3 separate regions of the Homo sapiens genome follow, and all the other regions are linked to region 1. The links are contacts of gene promoters, found by promoter capture Hi-C in human tissues and cell types (Jung and others, 2019). All regions are on one chromosome and are shown on one strand. Each heading gives the region's core, a stretch centred on a gene start or on the middle of the fragment in contact. The rest is flanking DNA. Distances are from core to core; before and after follow the strand shown. Region 1 holds the start of CDCA4 (cell division cycle associated 4). Region 2 holds the start of INF2 (inverted formin 2). Region 3 holds the start of MTA1 (metastasis associated 1).

Region 1 (2,791 bases), core at 15-2,514:
TGCCTCAGCCTCCCACATAGCTAGGATTATGATTACAGGCATGCGCCATCACGCCCAGCTAATTTTTGTATTTTTAGTACAGACGGGGTTTCACCACGTTGGCCAGCTAGTCTCGAACTCGGGACCTCAGGAGATCCACCCGCCTAGGCCTCCTCTCAAAGTGCTGGGAGGTGTGAGCTACCGCGCCCAGCCAATTGCAGGTACTTTTGTTACTTGGAACGAAACACACTCCTTCTTTTCCCTGAAAACATGTTCCAGTGGCAAGTTGAGGGAAACTTCCTAGCCCCTTTTCCAAGATACAGCCTACTACTCTTCCTAGAAAAGGGGTGTAACTCACTTTGTATTCTGGATTTCCACCCTAATTATAAAACACGGTGACACTTGAAAATAGAGTGGTTGTACGTAGAAAGTTGATAAAACGTAAGTTTTGTGAACAGGCAATGTTTTTCTGTGGCTCGCTTTGAGAGAACGGTTATCTGGGTCCCGCCGTCCCGTGCGTCCCACACGAAGGCCACAGGAGAAGCGAGGCAGCGGAGACCCTCTATTCCAGCAAGCTGTCGGAGCCTTTGCCACGACGATCCTGTTTGCGGGGCGAGAAGCGTCTGAAGACGCGGAGGGAGGCTTGCGTCTGACTTCTGCAAGTGTCTCGGGGACTTTCCCTAGTCCCACCTCGCACCGCCGGAGGAGCCCAGGGAAGACGGCGCTGGCCGACCCGCCCGGGGTCTGGGCCTCCTCCCACATCCGCGGCCCTCTCCGCGGCCGGGCTCCGACAGAGGGGGCTGCGGCGCGCCTGGCGTTCCCTCCGCTGCAACTAGAGCCGAGGTACGGGAAACGCCGCTGCGTACCCCAGCCGGGCCCTCGTGAAGCGGCTCCCGCGTGGGGCCGCCCGCAGGCCTCGGCAAAGCCCCAGCTCCGCGCTCCGCAAGGAACGCAGACGGCGGCCCGGGCCCCTCTGTTCCCCGGGCCCCCTCAGCAGCGGCCACCCCGCGGGGGAACCAGCGCCCAGGAGGGCGGCGAGGGCGCCGCGGCAGCCCCAGCGGTGGTCCCGGGCGCCGCCTCCGCCCCGGACCCAGCGCCAGGAGCCACAGACTCCGCGCACCGCCCCCAGGCTCCTCCGCGCCCTGCAGCACAAAAGTGCACGCCGCCGTAGACGCCCTAGCGGTCCGCCGGGCCCGCTCACCTGACCCGCGAGGCCGCCCGCCGGGTCCTCTGCTCAGCCACCGCCACCGCCGCTGCCGCCAGCTTCCCGCCGCTGAGGAAGGAGCGCCCGACGGCGCGGGGCGGGGCGAGCGACCGCCACTCGGCGTCCACAAAGGGTCGACGCTGCGCTCTCCGCGCGCTACGCCCGCTGATTGGCCACTCGCGGGCCGGGGGCGGGGCCTCTTGTTCAAACCCACGCGGGCGGGGCATCTGTGGCGCGTCTTCCCGCGCTGCGGCGACGGCCGTTGGGGCTCGCGCGCGCCCTCGGTTGCCCCGCCCCCGCCCCTGCGCCCGGCCCCGCCACGCCCACGCCCCGCCGGCTCCCAGGTCTCCCCGCGCCCAGTCCGGCCCCGCCCCGCCAGCTCCCAGGTCTCCGCGCGTCTGGCCCTGAACTGAACGCGCCTGCGCCTGGGGCCCACGTGGGGCCCTCGGGCGGGCGTGGCGGGGCAAACAGAGGTTTGGACTCTCTCGCTTCTGCCTGGCTCAACTTCTCCGCCGAGGCATCCGTGCCGGGGTCGGGAGGAGCCGGGCACGGCAATTCCCGGGCGGTCTGGGCTCCGAGGTCTATCCAAGCCTCTCCAGAGACCGGGGTTATCTCCAAAGGCTTCCTAGGTTTACACGTAAGAAATGTAACGTGAAAGTTCAAAGCAGGGGACACGTGTTTTAAATCTCTTAGTGGAAAAGGTTTTAAATAGGATGCGAGAACCTGCAATCATTGACTTAAGTAATACCCTGAGCGCCTGCAGCAGGCCCGGCAGGCGTGGCTGCAGCTGAGAGCCAAGTGCTGGAAGTTGGGGGGGAATCCTCAGATCAATCCGCAGGTGCGGATGCGCCAAGGTCGGTGGTAAATGCTGAAATGCTGTCGGGAAACCTGGGAGTGACGTGGGGGCGCTGCTCACATAGGTCTCTAGGATAAGGAGCGTCTTAAAGCACCAAAAGGAAGAGTGGACGAGAATTCAGGAGAGGAATGGCTGGGGCAAAGCCCGAGGCAGGGGCAGGAGGCAGGAGCACGTCTCAGTGCAGTGAGAAAGAACCCTGTGATCTCGTGGGAAAGTTTTAAGTGTGAGGGGTGGAGGGACTTTTGGGCTATTCTGGGAGTGGGATGGAGACTACTGGCATGGTCAGCAGAGAAGGAACTGGAATCTGAATTGTGCTTGAAAAGAATCACTGTTCTTATTTAAAAAAAAAAAAAAGGGGGTCTCTTTCGCCCAGGCTGGACAACAGTGGCGTGATTATGGCTCACTGTATCCTCGAACTCTTGTGCTCGAGTGATTCTCACGCCTCAGCCTCCCAAGTAGCTGGGACTACAGAAGTGTGCCACTACACCAAGCTAACTTTTTTTTTTTTTTTGGTAATTTTGTAGAGACAGGGTATTGTCTTGTTACACAGGCTGGTCTCCAACTCCTGGCCTTAAGTGATCCTCCTACCTTGGCCTCCCAAAGTTCTGGGATTACAGGCATGAGGCACCACAACCACCAAGAATCACTGTTGGTAATAGATTTGGAGGAGGTGGCAGGAAGGCTGGAAGTAGAAAATCCCATTAGGTTACTGCCCAGGTAAAAGAAAATGGGACTTGATAAAGGTGACTACC
Region 2 (2,700 bases), core at 112-2,611, 330 kb before region 1:
GAGCCAGCAAACTTCCGGGGCTGGGGCTGCTGGGCAGGGCAAGGTCCGCACAGGGAGCAGACAGACGCAGCCTGCAATTCGGCGCTTATCCCCACCGGAGCGGAGGCACACCAAAGCCAAAGGACACGCAGCTGGCCTCAAAGCAGAAGCTGCATCGGGGCTGGGAAGCCATTCAGGAGCCCTTTTCTCTCCCCTCGCCCTCACCCTGAGCCCTGGCCGCCACGGCCCACACAGCAGGCCCTCCGGAGAGAGATGTCAGGACTCCGAGTGGAGACACTTTATCCGCATGTTCTTGACCCTCATACAGCCCTTACGGGTACTTATTCTATTTTACAGATGGGGAAACTGAGGCTCCACAGAGTCATATCCGAGCCTGAGGCCGCACAGGGAGTGCTGGCGCCGGTTCTCAGGGCAGGGGTTGTGTCTGCTCTGTCACATGTCACACGGGGGCTCCCCCAGGCCTGCCTTCCTCTGCCCTCCCTCTAGCTGCCAGTGGCCCCCAAACCCCAGGCCTGGTGCGCTGCTTCCTGCAGCTCTGACTGAGGGTCAGACGTCAGAAGGGACTTCCAGAGCTGGGGTCTGGCTCTCATCCAACCAGGCTGGCTTTCAGAGCCGACTATGGGCACGCCCCATGCTGGTCAATGTCGGCGGTGGGGGGATGGGTGCCCCCCTCAATCTAGGAGACAGATGAGGCCGGACAGCAGAGGGGTGGCAGAGAAAACCCACCCCATTGCGACACCTCCGCGGCCCTCATGCAGCTGTCTCCACCAACCGGCGAAGTGCGGCTGCCCAAGACCGCCGAGACCCCATCAAGGGTGGAAGGGGGTCAGGCAGGGCTGCGGAGAGGAGGCCACATGGGTGGCCTGGTTGATGGGTAGGCTCTCTCTCCCCAAAGCCTGGGAAGAGCCATCTCTGCTGAGGGATCCCCGAACGCGGGGACTCCGGATCCGGCTGGCTGGAACGGGAGTCCCGGGCCGGGGCAGAGAGAGGTGAGCGGCGCCTGGGAGGCCAGTCCCACCGGAGGATAGGGGTGTAGGTGGACGGGAGGCGGTGGAGGGCAGGGACGGGGCGGACAGTGGGGGCTGAGGCGGGAGACGGCCCCGATCTGCGCGTCCCACCCCCATCTCCGCCCACCAGGAGCCAGGCCAGCAGGGACCGCGAGGGGGCGGCCAGGTTATTCACGGGAGTGGGGAGACCCCTTAAAGCGCCCTCAGGGACCGGCCACAGTGGGCGGGGCCACCCCCAGCCACCCACCTCCCCCCCCAGGCCCCGCCCCCGGCCCGCGCTCGCTCCCCACGTGGCCGCTGACGGGCGGGGCGGCACCTCCTCTTCCTCCCGCCCGCCCCGCCCGCCCCGCGCCCGCCAGGAGCCACCGTCCGAGCCTTGCGGAGCGCGGCAGTGGGCGCCGGCTGCCCGCAGCCCCTGACCCGGCCCCGGACGGAGCGCCGGCCGCACCACCGCCCTCTGGCCGTTGCCTCACCGGGTAAGTCCTTGGCCTCGGGGTCCGCTTGGAGCTTCAGGGGAAACTGAGTCCGGGAGGAGGCAGGGGCGTGCTTGGGTCCAGGAGCGAGGTTCCGGGCTGCGGCGTGTGTGCCCAGGTGGCGGCGGGCGGTCCGGCGGCGCAGGGTACAGTTCCCGGGCGGGGACCCCAGGGCGCCCCTGGCCCCCCCGGCTCCGCGCGCCCCGCTCGGGACTATGGTCCTCCGCGCCGAGGCACCGCCCGAGCGCGCACTGGCCGCAGAGTGGTGGGCCCAGGGTCGGCCGGGCCTACTCCCAGGGCAGGCGGGATTTCCGCGCCTCGCGGCTGCCACATCCTGACCATGAATCAGCCACAGTTGGGAAAATAAACTTCAACTTCGGGTCCGCCGCCCGGGTGGCACCCCGAGGTGCGCGCCGGCCTGCGGCCCCACCCTGACTGCTTGGCTTCCAGCTGCCCACGCGCAGGTGGGCGCACAGGGAGCCCTTCCCACCCCGCAACCGCTGGCAGGCTTAGGGGAATCAGCCTCCATCACAGCTCTCTGTTCCTTTTGGGTGGGGTAGGATCCAATCCCTGTACGCCCCCAGACCCACCCGTCAACCCTCTAACTGGGGAGTCGCCCCAGGAGTGACCATGACTAAGGAGGGGAAGGCGGGGTGACCAGCTGTGTCCCTGACCGTCCCCAATGCCCCCTGGGGAGCACAGGCGTGGGGGGTGGTCTGTCTGTCTGGGCCTTCTGGGGCTCAAGCTCCCCACCCAGGGCTCCCGCAGCTCAGCTGTGACCACAGCATTACTGCCCACTCCAGCTGGACACACCAGGAGGCAGAGAGGCAGAGACCCTGCCCAGGCAGGGAACCAGGAACCCAGGAACCGGGCCAGAGGTCAGGCACACCCAGAAGGCGCTGGACGTAGGAAATTCCCTTACTGCCAGCCCTGCCCCTCCGTCTGGCACTGGAATGGAGCAGGATACTCGCCCTCTTCCGGCCTCAGTTTCCACATCTGCACTCTGAAGGGTGGGACAGCAGCTCAGGCTGGGACCTGCTCCCTGCCGCCCTGCACTGGGAAGGTGGGGTCCCAGAGCAGTGCCTCAGACCCCGAGGGTGCCACCCAGCCAGGGGCTTTTGGGGTGTCGGTGCTCAGCCCCCAGTGCAGCAAATAGTAGCATTGGGTTCCAGGCCTGGGGTCTGAGACCTCACACTGCTCCCACCCCTACCAGGGCAGCA
Region 3 (2,700 bases), core at 98-2,597, 400 kb after region 1:
CCCAGCCCGCAGGATGTGTCCTGGGACCCATAGCCCTCTCTCCCCAGAGACAGCACCGCCCTGCAGCTCGGGTTCCTGGCCCTGTGCTAACCCTGGTGGGGCTTTCCTTACTGGTCTGCTCTGCAGCCATGACATTGTGGCCACCGCTCTCCTTGGGACCCCCACCTGGCTTTCCTCCCAGCACATGCTGTTTCCTACCCACCTGGATGGTGTCCTGTGTGCTGGATTCCCCATGCTGTGTCCCCAGCATCCTGACCATGTCTGTCCCGCCTGCCTAGATCTTGCACCGTGGCCACGGGGCTCCCTCCTGATAGCCCTGAACGCTCCGCTCCATGTCCTACAGAGAGGGATGTCCCAAGTAGATGTCAGCTCCCTCCAGCATCTGAGCAGGCAGGACAGAGACCCACGGTGCTGCTCACATCAGCAGCCTGGAACCCCGAGACAGCTCCTTTTGCTCACCTCCCCCAACACTGATGTTGCACCTGTCTCCAAGCCACTCTGGGACCATCTGTTTCTCTCCATCTGGGAAGCCCCCTTCGCACCTCATGCTCTTCCTGGCTGGGGCGTCTGGGTCACTCACTGGACTCTCCTCTCCTTAGACCTGTGCACAAGCACACACGGGAAGGCATCCTGACAGGTGGTGGGAAGAGAAGGCAGCTGCCTCACTGCGGAAAGAGCACGGCCGCTCCTGGACTCCAGCCCTGTTGGGGCTGGCGGGGTCAGCAGGCGCTGGGTTCCAGCCTCAGGTGGGGTCTTTGGAGGTGGCCTCTGGGCACAGGCACCTCCTCTGCGGCCTTCTCACCAGGTCACGGTTCAGGGAGGCTTTGCCGGCTACGGAGCCTGCCCACACCAAGGCGCGCACGACCACCTGTCCAGAGATGCCACGCGGGCTGGGCGGCGAAGGCCAAGGACACGCCCTGCCTGGTGTCGGGGGCAAAGGTTAGGCCTGGAAGGGAGGTGTGGGGTGGGGACCCCGAGGCCAGGGCTGGGCCGCTGAGCTTCAGGGCCCTTGGGGGGCTCAGGGAGGAATGCCGGAGGACCCCAGCATCAGGAGGAACCCCTGGAGAGCTACGGCAGGACTCACCTGTGGGGCACAGGGAGGGATCACCAGGGAAATGGCCCTTGTGGAGGATCTCCCCTCTACCCCCAGGGCACCAGGGGAGGATCTACCAGGGGGTTCTGGTGGAAGGGCCCACCCGGGAAGCGGCGCGCGGGGAGGACTCGGGGGCGCCGAGAGGAACTGTCCGGGAAGGGGCGCGCGGGCCGCGGGCGGCGCGGGGTCGGTAACGGCCCGTGCGGTGGGCGGCGGCGCCCGAGGCCCCTCCCCGCCGCCCGCGGCCGCTCCTCCTCTTCCTCTCCCGCCCGCGCCGCGGCCCTCCCGTCCCTGCGCGGCCTCGGCGGCCTCGGCGGCGGCGGCGGCGGCGGCGGCGGCAGCAGCGCGGCCCCTTTAAACGCCTGCGGCGCCCCCCGCCCCCGCCATCGCGCCTCCATTTTCCCGGCCGCCCGCGCCGAGCGCCGCGCCCGCCCCGGGCCCCTCCGCCGCCGCCGGCCCGGACATGGCCGCCAACATGTACAGGGTCGGAGGTAAGGCCGCACCGCCTTTATGCCCGGCCCCGACCCGCCCGCAGCCCCCACCCGCCGCCGCTGCCGCCTCCCCCGCCCCTCTGCCCCGCAGGCCCCGCGCCCCCCGCCCGCCCTCGCGGCCCCCGGCTCCTTCCCGAACCGCCCCCCGCCGTGCTCACCCCAACCCAAAATGGCCCCGCGGGTCGGCCCCATCGGGGGCGGGCGGGGCTCGGCGGCCCGGGGGTGGGGGGCGGCCCACCTGTTGGGGCCGAGGGGGCGGCCGCGGGGGTGGCGGGGGGGCGCGGGGCCTGCGGGACATCCGGGGGTCCGGGGCCGGGAGCCCCCAGCGGGAGCACGTGGCCTTGGGAGGCGCCGGCTGCCGGTCTGGGAGCAGGAGTTTTGGGGCTGTGGGGTCTCCCCCGGCCCGCGGCCCTGTGCTGGGACTCCGGTGCATCCCCTCTGGGGATGGGGAGCCCCGGTGAGGGGCCACGTTCCTCCCTAGAGCCCTCCTGCAGCCTGGCCCCGGGGCTTCCCCCAGCAGGGATCCCTCAGGGGGTCTTCAGCAGGGAGCGAGCATCCCGAGCACGCCTCTAAGTCCCCCCAAACTTTTCCCTGCCTCTCGCTCACCTCAGCCCATTCGGGAGGCGCTTTGCAAGGGTTGGGGAGAGGCCGGAGGGCCTCCTGGGCAGGGGCTTCCTCCGTGGGCCCAGCCTCCTGTTGCTCGGGCCCCCCGGGCCTGCAGCTTTGAGCCTTGCCCTCCTTCGTGTGCCTGGGACTCCGTGGGGTCTTTCACAGGAAGGTGGGGGGTCGTGTGCATTCCATCATTCCATCAGCGCCTCCCTCCCCAGGACTCTGAGACCCCTCCCTGCCTGTGACCCTCTCGGGCAGGTGCTCATTACCTTTCCCACCTGCAGCCTGCGCTGCTGGAGGGAGCTGGGGTCACTCCCGCTCTGGCTTGATCCCCATGCCCCTGACCCCGAGTGCCCAGAACACTCTGTGTCTCTCGAGCGTGGCTTCTGCTGCCTTGGACGCCGTGTGGTCTGGCCGGCCAGTCCTGTGACCTTGGGGACGGTGGGAGCCCCCTACATCCCGTCTGTGAGATGGGCGGTCAGTCCGCATCAGCAGCTCTGGGCCTCC

Evidence for each region. Contacts are between HindIII fragments. The study calls those that stand out against the background at their distance.
Region 2: the fragment with the promoter of INF2 here is called in contact with the fragment with the promoter of CDCA4 in region 1 in 1 of the 25 tissues and cell types used here (liver).
Region 3: the fragment with the promoter of MTA1 here is called in contact with the fragment with the promoter of CDCA4 in region 1 in 2 of the 25 tissues and cell types used here (dorsolateral prefrontal cortex and liver).

Annotation. Positions count from the first base shown.
Region 1 is chr14:105,019,819-105,022,609 of GRCh38, forward strand. It overlaps CDCA4 (cell division cycle associated 4), which reads right to left and starts at 1,265. Exons shown (of 2, transcript NM_017955.4): 1 at 1,181-1,265. RefSeq lists enhancers at 442-957, 1,472-1,985, 2,001-2,060 and silencers at 611-700, 711-1,600, 1,631-1,700. The HindIII fragment of the contact is 13,458 bases long and covers 1-2,791 here.
Region 2 is chr14:104,688,257-104,690,956 of GRCh38, forward strand. INF2 (inverted formin 2) reads left to right here and starts at 1,362. Exons shown (of 23, transcript NM_022489.4): 1 at 1,362-1,483. RefSeq lists enhancers at 1-343, 344-1,333 and silencers at 1,026-1,285, 1,386-1,475, 1,496-1,735, 1,826-1,875. The HindIII fragment of the contact is 30,363 bases long and covers 1-2,700 here.
Region 3 is chr14:105,418,480-105,421,179 of GRCh38, forward strand. It overlaps MTA1 (metastasis associated 1), which reads left to right and starts at 1,348. Exons shown (of 21, transcript NM_004689.4): 1 at 1,348-1,584. The coding sequence starts at 1,557. MTA1-DT (MTA1 divergent transcript) reads right to left here and starts at 1,260. Exons shown (of 2, transcript NR_125385.1): 1 at 543-1,260. RefSeq lists an enhancer at 1-214 and silencers at 912-1,011, 1,042-1,091, 1,182-1,441. The HindIII fragment of the contact is 32,458 bases long and covers 1-2,700 here.